Linked DNA regions of Homo sapiens: regions 2 and 3 are each linked to region 1. The links are contacts of gene promoters, found by promoter capture Hi-C in blood cells and fetal thymus (Javierre and others, 2016). All regions are on one chromosome and are shown on one strand. Each heading gives the region's core, a stretch centred on a gene start or on the middle of the fragment in contact. The rest is flanking DNA. Distances are from core to core; before and after follow the strand shown.

Region 1 (3,365 bases), core at 646-3,145:
GGGAGTTATTCCCACCGCACAGTAGCCAGGGAAGAGCACCTTTGCTTGCTTGCCATAGCCTGACATGAACCAGCAACGGCCCAGAGAGGAGAATGGAAGAGAGGTGGGGACAACATTCCCTCTGTACAGGACAGAAGGGACTTGAGGGACAGATGTGACGACCTCAAAGATCTCTAGGAGTCTGGGGCTCCTCACAACTCTAAGAGGGCTGAAGAGGGGGCTTAGTGCAGGCTTCTGCGGGCTGGTGGTGTGCACCTGCCCCCGGCTCCGCATTCTGTGACTTCACTTCCGTGGCTGAAAATCAGCCACTGTGGGAATATTCCCACCACAGAAACTGGCAACGCCACAAAGCCGAGGGTTGTTTGTTTTTTCTCCCCCTGGAGAGCCGGTTGTAAGTATTCACCAGCACACCCCTGCTGCAGCAAGCCTCTCTGGAGGAGGAGGAGAGGGTGGCGTCCCGGGCAGCTGGCACGGACTGTGCAGACCGGCCTCAAGGCCAAGGTGAGGAACTGGGAAGGCCACCTCGACGGCTGTGTTTCTTGTGTAGAGAATTATCTCAGAGAGAAGCGACTACTATAATCAGCTGAAGCAGAAAGGCGTCAAAGTGCCCCCCCTGCAACAGTCAGAGGCCTTCCTGACCAGCAAATCCAAGAAGGGGACCTCCAAGTAGGCCCAGCCAGGCCCCCAAATACGGTCAGCCCAGCAGAGGCCGGGGCCCAGCTCCAGAACCACCCGCCCCCACCATGCGTCCTGCTCTCAGACTCAGAATTAAACCCCGGTGTTGGCACTGTCCCACCTTTTTCTTCTCTGGGATCCACGCGGGGGCCTACTCTCCTCTGCGACCTTGAGCTACAAGGACACTCCCCATTCCAAAGCTCACTCACAGGGAGTCAGCACACCAGCCTGTGCCCCTAGCTCCTAACAGGTCCCCTTGCGGCACCAGGCTGCCAGAGGCCTGAGCCGGGGTGTCCGCCCAGCACTCAGCACAGACCTCACGCCTGAGCAGAAGGGGTCTGTGACCTTCTGCCCTGGGGGCTCTCCTGGCTGGGGCACTCTCTTGCTGGAGGACCCCTCTGGAAGATGGTGAGGGTGGGGGGCTCTGTTCCCATCCCCCCGCTCCTGGAAGGAAAGCTTTACGCACGGGAACGGTGTCTGTGGTCCCCGACGCTTCCCCGGCGCCTCTGAGGCTCTGGGCGCCTGAACACCTTCGGAAGGGACTCTCCCCATTACCCTTCTCTGCTCCCCACCCACACCTGCTTCCCTTCCCGCCGCGAGCACCGAGCGTGGGCCACGTGCGGGCGCCACGCCCCTCAAGCCCCGGAGGAGGACGGTCCCCGCGGCCGGGTCCCCGAACCCAGCATTCAGGCCCAGACGCGCCCAGAGCCTCCCGCAGTCTCGTCGGCGCTGCAGCCGGGTCCCCGCGGGGCTGGGAGGCTCGTGGCGTCGGAGGGGCTCCAGCAGGGGTGAAGGAGGTCGGGGACCCTGGAGGCCCCAAGGGCGAGCCGTCTGGGGGCAGAAAGTGCAGCCCTCTGCAGACCCTGCCCGGCCCCCCTGCACCTCCTGGCCCCGGGGCTGGGCGGCCTAGAGCCCCGGCCCCTTCCGGACGAGGCGTCTCCCGGCCCCACTCGCCCCGCCCCCAGCCCCTTCTGGACCAGGCGCCTCCCCGCTGCGGCCCTAGCCCTTCCCCGCATGGCCCCGCCCCCCTCTCGCCCCGCCCCCTCTCGCCCCGCCCCCGGCCCCTTCTGGACCAGGCGCCTCCCCGCTACTGGCCCCAGACCTTCCCCGCATGGCCCCGCCCACCACTCTAGCCCCGCCACCTTCCGGACCAGACACCTCCCCGCTGCTGGCTCCAGCCCTTCCCCGCGTGGCCCCGCCCCCGCCCTCGCCCCCTGCCCAGGCCCGGCCCCTGCGGAGCCCAGAGACGCGGGGACACAGGTGAGGCGCGCGGGGTCCGGGCTGCGGCTTCCCGGTGCGGCCGCAGTGGGCAGGTGCGACTGTGCGCGGCCTCGCTGGCTGAGAACTGGCGGGGGTGGGGGCGTGCCCTGGACTGACCCCCACCGGCCTAACCCGCGGTGCGGGGCCAGGGCCGGAACTGCCCGCCCGGCTCCTTGCCCGGCTCCTTGTGGCTGCTGGGGACCCCCGACACCAGCCACTTTCCCTTCCCGGCCCTTAGCAAGATCGGCTTCTCCGGTCACCTTTATTTTTTTAGGCTCGAGGCGTCTGCCGCACCTCAGCCCACGACCTGCCCCGCTGGGAGGTGCGGGCCGCTGGCCAGGCCCTGACCGCAACCTGGCCCAGAGGCCCCAGCCCTCAGGCAAGGTTCTCCGGGTAAGTGTGGGGCCCTGAGGCGCTGTGGGGTGAAGAGGTCTATGGAGGGGCGCCTGTGTACCTAGGGCCTTCCTGCACTCACAAGCCCCCAGGAGGTGCCAGGATCCGGGAGCCTCCCAGGGCCTGGAGGGGAGTCCCTGATGGGTTCCTGCCGCCACACCTGTGACCATCACATGAGTGTGGAGAGACGTTTACTGAGCAAGTGAGGGAGGCCAGCCTCAAGGGCCGGCTCTGGTGGCTGTGCACCGGGGTGACTTGGGAACAACGTGTTCTACGTCAGCAAGACAGGAACCCATGATCCCAGAGTTGAACACACTGGGCTTGACCCCTCCCACCGGGAGGCCCATGGTGGGCTGCTGCTGTGGACTTGGAGCCTCAGCACTCCCGAGACTAATGCTGCGTGGATGTCGGGTTGCAAGGCGGCTGCTGCAGCTCCAGCAGCTCCAGCCATCACGTCGAGTCTGGAAGAAGGAGGTGGCTGCTGCTGCTTTCACAGAAGCAAACTCTCCCATCCCCTGCTGCACCCTGGCTCCTGGACCCCAGCTGGGTGACTTGGGAAAGCAGGGGTGGTGGTATTAAGCTTGTCTTACCCGGGTCATGGCTGTTACCTGGGGCTGGCACATTGCTGCTGGGACCAGAATGGGATTCTGCACACCAGGCAAGAGGGCGTGAACCTCGGGTAGGCAGCTGACCGCTCCACATGCTCCGGGAAAACAGCACCCATACTCCAGTAGAGGCTGGGCCTCTCCGGGCCTGAGTGCCAGGCTGCACTGAGCCAGGGCTCCCACCGAAGGCACACTTTATGGCTTTGAGACAGCTCCTTCTGCCTCTCTGGGCTTTGGGGGAAGGCAGACATGGAAGTGCCGGGAGTCTCAGAACTGCCTGGGGCCTGAGTTTCTGAGCTGGCTTCTTGCAGGGGAGTGGCTGCTGTGCCTTTAGGCCTCTGTGCCGATGACCTGGGAGGAAGGTCAGCCTTCCCCGCTGGAGGGGGCCCAGCAAAGCCTCAGCTCCTAGAAGTGAGGGGCCTGCCATTGCCT
Region 2 (3,365 bases), core at 501-3,000, 1.9 Mb before region 1:
AAATACAATGAACCAATGCTCCCCAAAAGAAAACCATAGGTTACCATTTCTACACTATTTACCCATAAGTCCAGTACTGTACACCCTAACTGTAAATGTACACCAACTCCCTTTTCAAAACACAAATTTTAACATCGGCGTTTTCCTTCAGGAGCCCATTTCACAATCTTAAGAAAAAGCTTCCATGAAGACAGGCTGGGCACGGTGGCTAAGGCCGCTAATCCCAGCACTTTGGGAGGCTGAGGCGGGAGGATCGCTTGAGCCCCAGAGTTCGAGACCAGCCTGGTTAACAGGATCTCTTTTACAAAGAGATCCCATCTCTTAAAAAAAAAAAAAAAAAAGGCTTCCATGAAGATGAATTAAGCAAACAAAAGCTGATACTGCTTCTGCATGCTAACCATGTAATTTAACGGACACAAGAAATGTTAAAATATCATTTGAATCAACTATCGATTCACAAGAAAAAATATAGCAGGTTCTTAAAAGTCAAAAGCCTCAGCCGACAGCCCTGTGGAATTTTCAACAGATCTCCCCACTCCCCACCCCCACCCCGCTTCCAGCCGAAAAGCCGATCCAGGCAAGAGGAAGACACCCAGCCTTTGTGCTATTTCCTGTCCTCTCCCCCACCTTCGGGCCTTCGGAATATCGCAAACCGGGCCCCGAAACTCGGCGCGGCGGCGGCCGCCCCACAAAGGCAGCGGTGGGAGCGCCATCTTGGCGCGGCCACCGGGCCCATTCATTCGCGGGGCCGGGCCGGGGTCCGCGCAACCCTCGAGTCGACACGCGCGGGGCGCCAGCGCCGGACAGACCCGGGCCTCGGCAGGAGAAGGGCGAGGCCACAGCGCGACTGCCTCAGCGGCTCGACACAGCGAAAAGGGCCGAAACCGTTATTTTCCCATTTCCCGACGCCGCGCCCGGCTTCCGCTTTAAATCCCTACTCCGACCGCGGCGCGCGGCCCGGCTTCCCCATTTCATTGTTCCCCTTCCCCACGCTCGCGCCCCGCGGCCGCCCGGCCCTCAAAGTCACCCCGATAGGCGGCCCGCGCGGGGGCTCCGGCCGCCGACACCGCCCCGCCTGCAGGCCCGCCCGGCCTTTGTTCTCGCGCCGCGGGCCCGAGAGCCACGTCCGGCTCCCCACGCAGGGCCCGGCCCCGCCCGACCCGCGCCCCCGGGGCCCCGGCCGCCGCCACGGGAAGCGCCCGCGGCGCACACAACCCCGCACCCCGGTGCCGAAACTCGGCCCCCAGCCTTGGGCCTGGGACCCCGGCTCCTCTCCCTAGACCCCGCCCTCGACCCCGACCCTGCACCCCGAACCTCGGACCCCAGCCCCCGGCCCCCCCTTCGGACGCCGCCCGCCGCACCCGGGCGGGGCAGGAAGACGCGGCCCCGACCGGCGGGTGGGGTGGGGGCGGGGCGGGCGCCCCCAGGGCGGGCGGGTGGACGAACAGGACCCGGGTCCGGGGCTGGGGGCTGCCGCGCTCACCTCAGCGCCCTCGTCGCGGCCTGACGCGCCCACACCGCCGCCTCGGCCGCCGCTCGGCAGGTCGTCGCGCTCGGGCCGCGCTGCGCGCTCCGCGGGCGCTGCGGGCAGGTGCGCGCCGGCGAGGCTCGGTCCAGTCCCGCCGCGGCGGCTGCTCCACTCCCGGCCCCGCTCCCCACTCGCCGCCCGCTCCCGCTCCCGCCGCCGCCGCCGCCGCCTCCGTCCGCCCCTCAGACGCCTCCAGCCATCGGGATGGGCGCGGCGGGCCCCTGCCCGCAGCCTCGGAAAACCCCACGCGCTCGCGTCACCACGCACGCCGCGCGTCGCGCGCGCTCGCCAGGCCCGACGGGCACGCGCACGCCTGTGCGCGTCCAAACCGCATCGGGCCCCGAGCGCGTGTCCGAGCGGCTTAAAGGGGCCGTGCTGCTGCCTTCGGGTACCGCTGCCCCGGGAGACCCCCGGCGGCCCGGCCCTGCGGGGACCGGGCGGGATGGGGACCGGGGCAGTGGACCCTCGGAGTTGGGATGGGGCGGGGGGAACGCGGGCGTGGAGCCCTCCGGGGACAGGGTAAGGTTGGGTAACCGTGGGCGGGGGCTCCTCCAGGGGCGGGGGTGGGGTAACGGCGGGCGGGGGGCACTCAAGCGACAGGGCAGGGGCGGGAAGGCCGCGGGCGGGGGCGGTCCCTCCGGGGACGGGGCGGGTGGGGGCACCGCGGGCGAGATCGCTTCCTGCAGAGGAGGCAACAGGCCCCGCTAGCAGGTCAGGGTCCCGGGCAGGCGCAGGTGCCCCCCGGCCTCTCAAGCAGGGACTGCGGCGAGCTCAGACGCGGCTGACGGGCAGAGACTCGCGCTTGGGCTCAGTGCGTGTGAAGTGGGCCTCGGGCTGCGGAGGAGGGCAGCACCCCGTGGCTCCTCGCGCTGCTGCGAGCAGGGCCGCCTGGCAGGGGCGGGGGCCGGTGGGCGGGAGTGTCGGGGTAAGGCCGCGGACTCCTCCCATGCCGCTGAGCAGTGGACAGCGGGGACTGGAGACCTCCAGGTGAGGAAGGGGAACGAAGTCAAGAAGGCCACATGTCCTGGCTTCCAGGCTTGGTGTCCTCAGAAGCCTCCAGAACGTCCATGGAACCCGCCCCTGCGCCCACCGCCTCCTGCTGTCTTTCCAGCTGAGTTCCGGCTGCCCCTCACCCTCGGCTTCTTCACTCTGCCTCTCCCCAGCCAGCGCCCTGCTCCCCGGTCCTCAACCACCACCTTCCACCTGCCTGGGCCTTCATCGCCTCCGAGCTCCCCTTCCACACCAAACCTGGCGTCCGTTTTCCTCCAGGCCTGCACCAGCACAGCTGAAGGGGAGAGAGACCCAACCTCATCCACTGGGCCTCCCCTCAACCAGGGCCACAACCTCAAGGGGCCATGCCACCTCCAACACCTATTTCCCACCTTCTACTCTCTCCACACCCTGGGACACCACCCGCCTCTCTCAGCTGACGTTTTCCTTCTTGTTTTGTGTGCATGGTGCTTGTGTGAGAAAGTGGACACACAGTAAGTGCGGCTTCCAGATGCGTCCGCCACCTGCCCTCCGTGCCACGCGCTTCCCCCTACCTAGGGGAGCCTCCACCAGACAGGGAACCCACGCCTTGCCACCCTTCTCTCTCCCTCCCACTTCACCTGTCCGCATCATTTCTGGAGCCCTTTCTTTCTGGCACGAGATGCTCCAGGGCCCTGTTGTATTCTCCCTGCCCCAGCCTGAACCCAGCTATTTCTGCTGCAGCCTGGTTCATTGTGGGAGAATGTCATGCAGAGCCCGGGATCTGGCTCCGGATGTGCTCATTGCTACTGGGGTGTCATTGCAGCTGGCGGAGCAAGGGAACACATCTATGTACATGCCCACACGC
Region 3 (3,365 bases), core at 350-2,849, 1.2 Mb before region 1:
CGTTCTCATACCTGGCACCAGGCCACACCCCCTAAGAAGCATTGCCTCCCATAAGCTCACTGAAAGGTGGGAGCCAGGACCTATAGCTACTTCCATTCTCATCGCCCCCCACTTCCCTAGAGGACACCCTTCCCTGGCTGGACATCTCAGAGAGATGATGACACCAACAACCCCGAGGACACCACAGCAGCAAACATGTCAGATGCACCAGGAGCACACAGCTCAGAGGGAATGGCCTGGGTCTCTCTGAGTCCCAGCTTTTCCAGGGAGGTGGGAAGCAGTCAGCGGCAGGCCCATTCATCCCAGTATTTACTGGGCGGCAAAGACAGGTTGGGCATCCTTTTCGGGGGCTGGGGCTACAAGACACACCGCTGCTCTTGTGGGATTCACACACAAGCAGACTCAGCCTACGACCGAGATGAGTGCTAAGAGGGAGAGGTATGTGAAGCCGCAGCGGCTATTCAAGGGGGGTTTCTCCAGGTGAAGCTGCCCCCAGGAAGCCCTCATGCCTGAAACATGGGCAGAGTAGGAGAGCAGGGAGTGGCTGGTTCAAATCCTGGTTCTGCCACTTTCTAGCCCGATGACCCTGGGCAAATTAGTTCACCTTTCTGGGGCTTGGTATCCTCATCTGCGAAAAGGGAGTAATTCGCGTTCCTCCCCTAGAGGTGGCTGGGAGGTGTCCGGGAGTCAGGAGCGTGGGAAAAAGGTCTAGAACAGAGCCTGGCCCGCCGTCATTACTGAGAGCACAGCCATCAGGCAGGAGGGTCTGCAGCGGACCCTGGAGAGGCCAGGGCAGAAGTGCAGGCCGCCTTAAAGGCCACGGAAGGCACGGGTGGCTTTTAAACCAGAGGCACGAGTTCCCAGGTCCCACGTCCACGGCCGCCTGAACTCACGCCCGGCGTCCACTCTCCAGAGAGCGGGGCCTGTGCACGGACTGTCCGGCCCGCGGGCCACAGCTGGCCACGCCGCGGGAACGCGCGGCCTTTTCGGGGCCACTCTGCCAAGGGCTTCCCGCCGAGCTCGTCCTCGTCTCGACCAGAACTAAGGACCCCAAATCTCAGGCCAGCCACCAGCCAAGCGGCGGAGCCGGGGCGCCCAGATGCCGATGTGGCCGAAGACATAAAATTCCGCCGACCCTCCCACCTCGCGGCGGGTAACGCTGGACCCCGGCCCCCAGCCACCCAGGACGGCCGCGCGAACTACCAGGCCCGGCAGGCCCCGCTCTGGTCCCTGCGGCGCCTGCCGGTAGCTGTAGTCCGGCCGTCGCCCCGAGCCCGCGCATCAGCGACCCTGCGGACTACAAGGCCCGTGAGGCTGTGCGCGGGCCCGCGGACTACAAGGCCCGTGAGGCTGTGCGCGAGGCCCGCGCCCCCGCCCTTCGTCCTTCCCGCCGCCCCCGCTCGCCGGCCCACCGCCGGCGCCCCGCCCGCCCCCGCAGCCCGCGCCCGGCGCCCGGCCTGCGGCTACCTATGTCGATGGCGAAGCGCTTGGCGTTCTCCAGGTTGCGGAAGATCTCGTCGGGGGGCAGCGTGATGCTCTTGTCCAGACTGTCCCCGCTGCTCCCGCTGCCGCTCGCTCCACACTCCGCCATTTTGAAAGTGCCCGGCCAGCTCATCAGCCATGGAGATATATGCGCATATATTTGACTGCCAAACGCCCCCTCGCATAGATTATGTTAATGAGGCGCCGGCCCCGCCCCTTCCCTCCCCCACCCCCGGCCTCTGAGGTCTCGGCCGCTACAGGGCGAGCTAGGGCCAGTGCTGGGCAGGGGTCCGAGAGGCCCGGGGCTGCGGGCGGGCGGGCGGTTATCCTCCAGAGATCGCGCATCAGCACAGAACATCTGGACTGATGTTCTTTTACCGCGCTGTCCACAGGCTTAACTCAAGTGCTCTGAGCCCTGCTGAGGGAGGCCGCAGAGGCCGCCCACCTGCTTCTAAGGGGGCACGTGGGTCTGCAGACTGTCAGAGAGCCCTGCCCTTCAGCGAGTGCCTGCTGTAAGCTTGGCCCTGCACGCCAGGGCGAATGTGATGCGCTCTTTGCTAGGGTGACTCAATCCTGGCTTCCCAGGGGCGTGGGACTTTCAATGTTAAAAGTCCCATGCAAACCAGAGGAGTGGGGAACCCTGCCCCACCTGGGAGGAGCCCCAGCCTGGCATGCACCTGCGGGTAGGGAAGATGTGTGCTGTAATGGCGATCCGTGGAAAGTGCTGTGGTCGGGGGAAGCCAGGCAGGCTGCCTGTGGGCAAGACAGGTGCCTGGGAGGCTGCAGGAACAAGCCTTGGAAGCAGCTGGAGCCAGGACAGGGGTATAGGTGGGGCAGGCCAGGGTTCCAGGGTGAGTGGCTGGGAAGCCCTGCTGGCATGAAGAGATGCGTCTTCTCCAGAGGCTCTGGGCGCCTTGGGAAAAAGCCCAGTGTTGGAAGCAGACAGATCAGCCCCTCCCGGGTAACCCGGGGTCATTACTGCATGTCTCTGGCCCTCAGCCTCTGTCTGCACGTGGAGAATGCCACCAGCTGCCTGGCAGGGCTCCTGGGAGCACAGGCCTGTGGGGCGGCACAAACTCCAGGGATAATGCATCTGTGTGCGCAGGGCAAGCCTTCAGGGAGGAGGCATCCTTGCCTGTGTCTTCCAAGGGGGTGGGTGTGTGGCTCTGGAGGGGGAGCCTGCCCCAGGGAGGCCTGGGTGGAAGAGTGGAGCACACCCCAGGCGGCTTAGACCTCTGGCAGCTCAGACCCCTGGCAGCATGGTGTGCCATGGGCCAGGCTGGCAGGAGGTGCCCTCCATGAGGGGCGCCCACCTGTGTGCCCACTGAACATGCGGGAAACATGCAGGTGAATGGGGGCCTTCCCTGTCCTCTGCCCACCATACCCCGGGGCTCGGTAGGGACCACTGGCAGGCACTGGGTTGGTCTGGTGGGGGGACCCTGTCTAGACTGCCTGTGGAGTAGCCAGAAAGGGGCTGAAGGCTGAGCGGAGCGAGAGGGGCTGAGCAGGAAGGAGCAGGCAGGGCAGGCCCACACACGGGGCTACCATTCAGCGGGGGTGGGAATGCGGCCCACTCCGGCCCAATCCTTGCTGGATGGATTTTGCCCCTTGGGAGCTGGTCCCTGGGAGCCACAGGCCTCAGTTCTTGCAGACTCAGCCAACACCCTGTGGCCTGCCTAAAAATACATGCCCTTTCTGAGGCAAGGGATGGCCCCGTGCAGGCTCCTGCCAGGACTGCCAGATCCTGCCTTGGCACGGTGGCCAGCGGGCAGGTGTCCCCGGAGCCCATGCCAGGACTGGCGCTGCAGGCCGTGGGAGTGTGCAGCAGCAACTCGGGGCAAATGTTTTCTCCTGTTTGGCCCAGGGCCAAGCCCCTTTGGCTG

What was found. The method cuts DNA at HindIII sites, captures the fragments that hold promoters and counts their contacts. A CHiCAGO score of 5 or more calls a contact.
Region 2: a contact is called between the fragment with the promoter of GNB1 here and the fragment with the promoter of SMIM1 in region 1, in 1 of 17 cell types (erythroblasts). The highest score is 5.0, in erythroblasts.
Region 3: a contact is called between the fragment with the promoter of PANK4 here and the fragment with the promoter of SMIM1 in region 1, in 4 of 17 cell types (naive B cells, endothelial precursors, erythroblasts and 1 more). The highest score is 6.5, in naive B cells.

What each region holds. Positions count from the first base shown.
Region 1 is chr1:3,770,854-3,774,218 of GRCh38, forward strand. It overlaps SMIM1 (small integral membrane protein 1 (Vel blood group)), which reads left to right and starts at 1,896. Exons shown (of 4, transcript NM_001288583.2): 1 at 1,896-1,935; 2 at 2,210-2,328. CCDC27 (coiled-coil domain containing 27) reads left to right here. Exons shown (of 12, transcript NM_152492.3): 12 at 548-792. The coding sequence ends at 670. RefSeq lists enhancers at 279-957, 2,244-2,759, 2,760-3,275 and a silencer at 1,303-2,182. The HindIII fragment of the contact is 1,777 bases long and covers 1,130-2,906 here.
Region 2 is chr1:1,889,337-1,892,701 of GRCh38, forward strand. GNB1 (G protein subunit beta 1) reads right to left here and starts at 1,751. Exons shown (of 12, transcript NM_002074.5): 1 at 1,484-1,751. GNB1-DT (GNB1 divergent transcript) reads left to right here and starts at 1,844. Exons shown (of 2, transcript NR_168264.1): 1 at 1,844-2,047; 2 at 2,564-3,365. RefSeq lists silencers at 1,066-1,255, 1,816-2,005, 2,126-2,225, 2,286-2,535. The HindIII fragment of the contact is 9,511 bases long and covers 178-3,365 here.
Region 3 is chr1:2,524,997-2,528,361 of GRCh38, forward strand. It overlaps PANK4 (pantothenate kinase 4 (inactive)), which reads right to left and starts at 1,600. Exons shown (of 19, transcript NM_018216.4): 1 at 1,468-1,600. The coding sequence starts at 1,591. RefSeq lists enhancers at 1,627-2,347, 3,069-3,365. The HindIII fragment of the contact is 7,457 bases long and covers 1-1,997 here.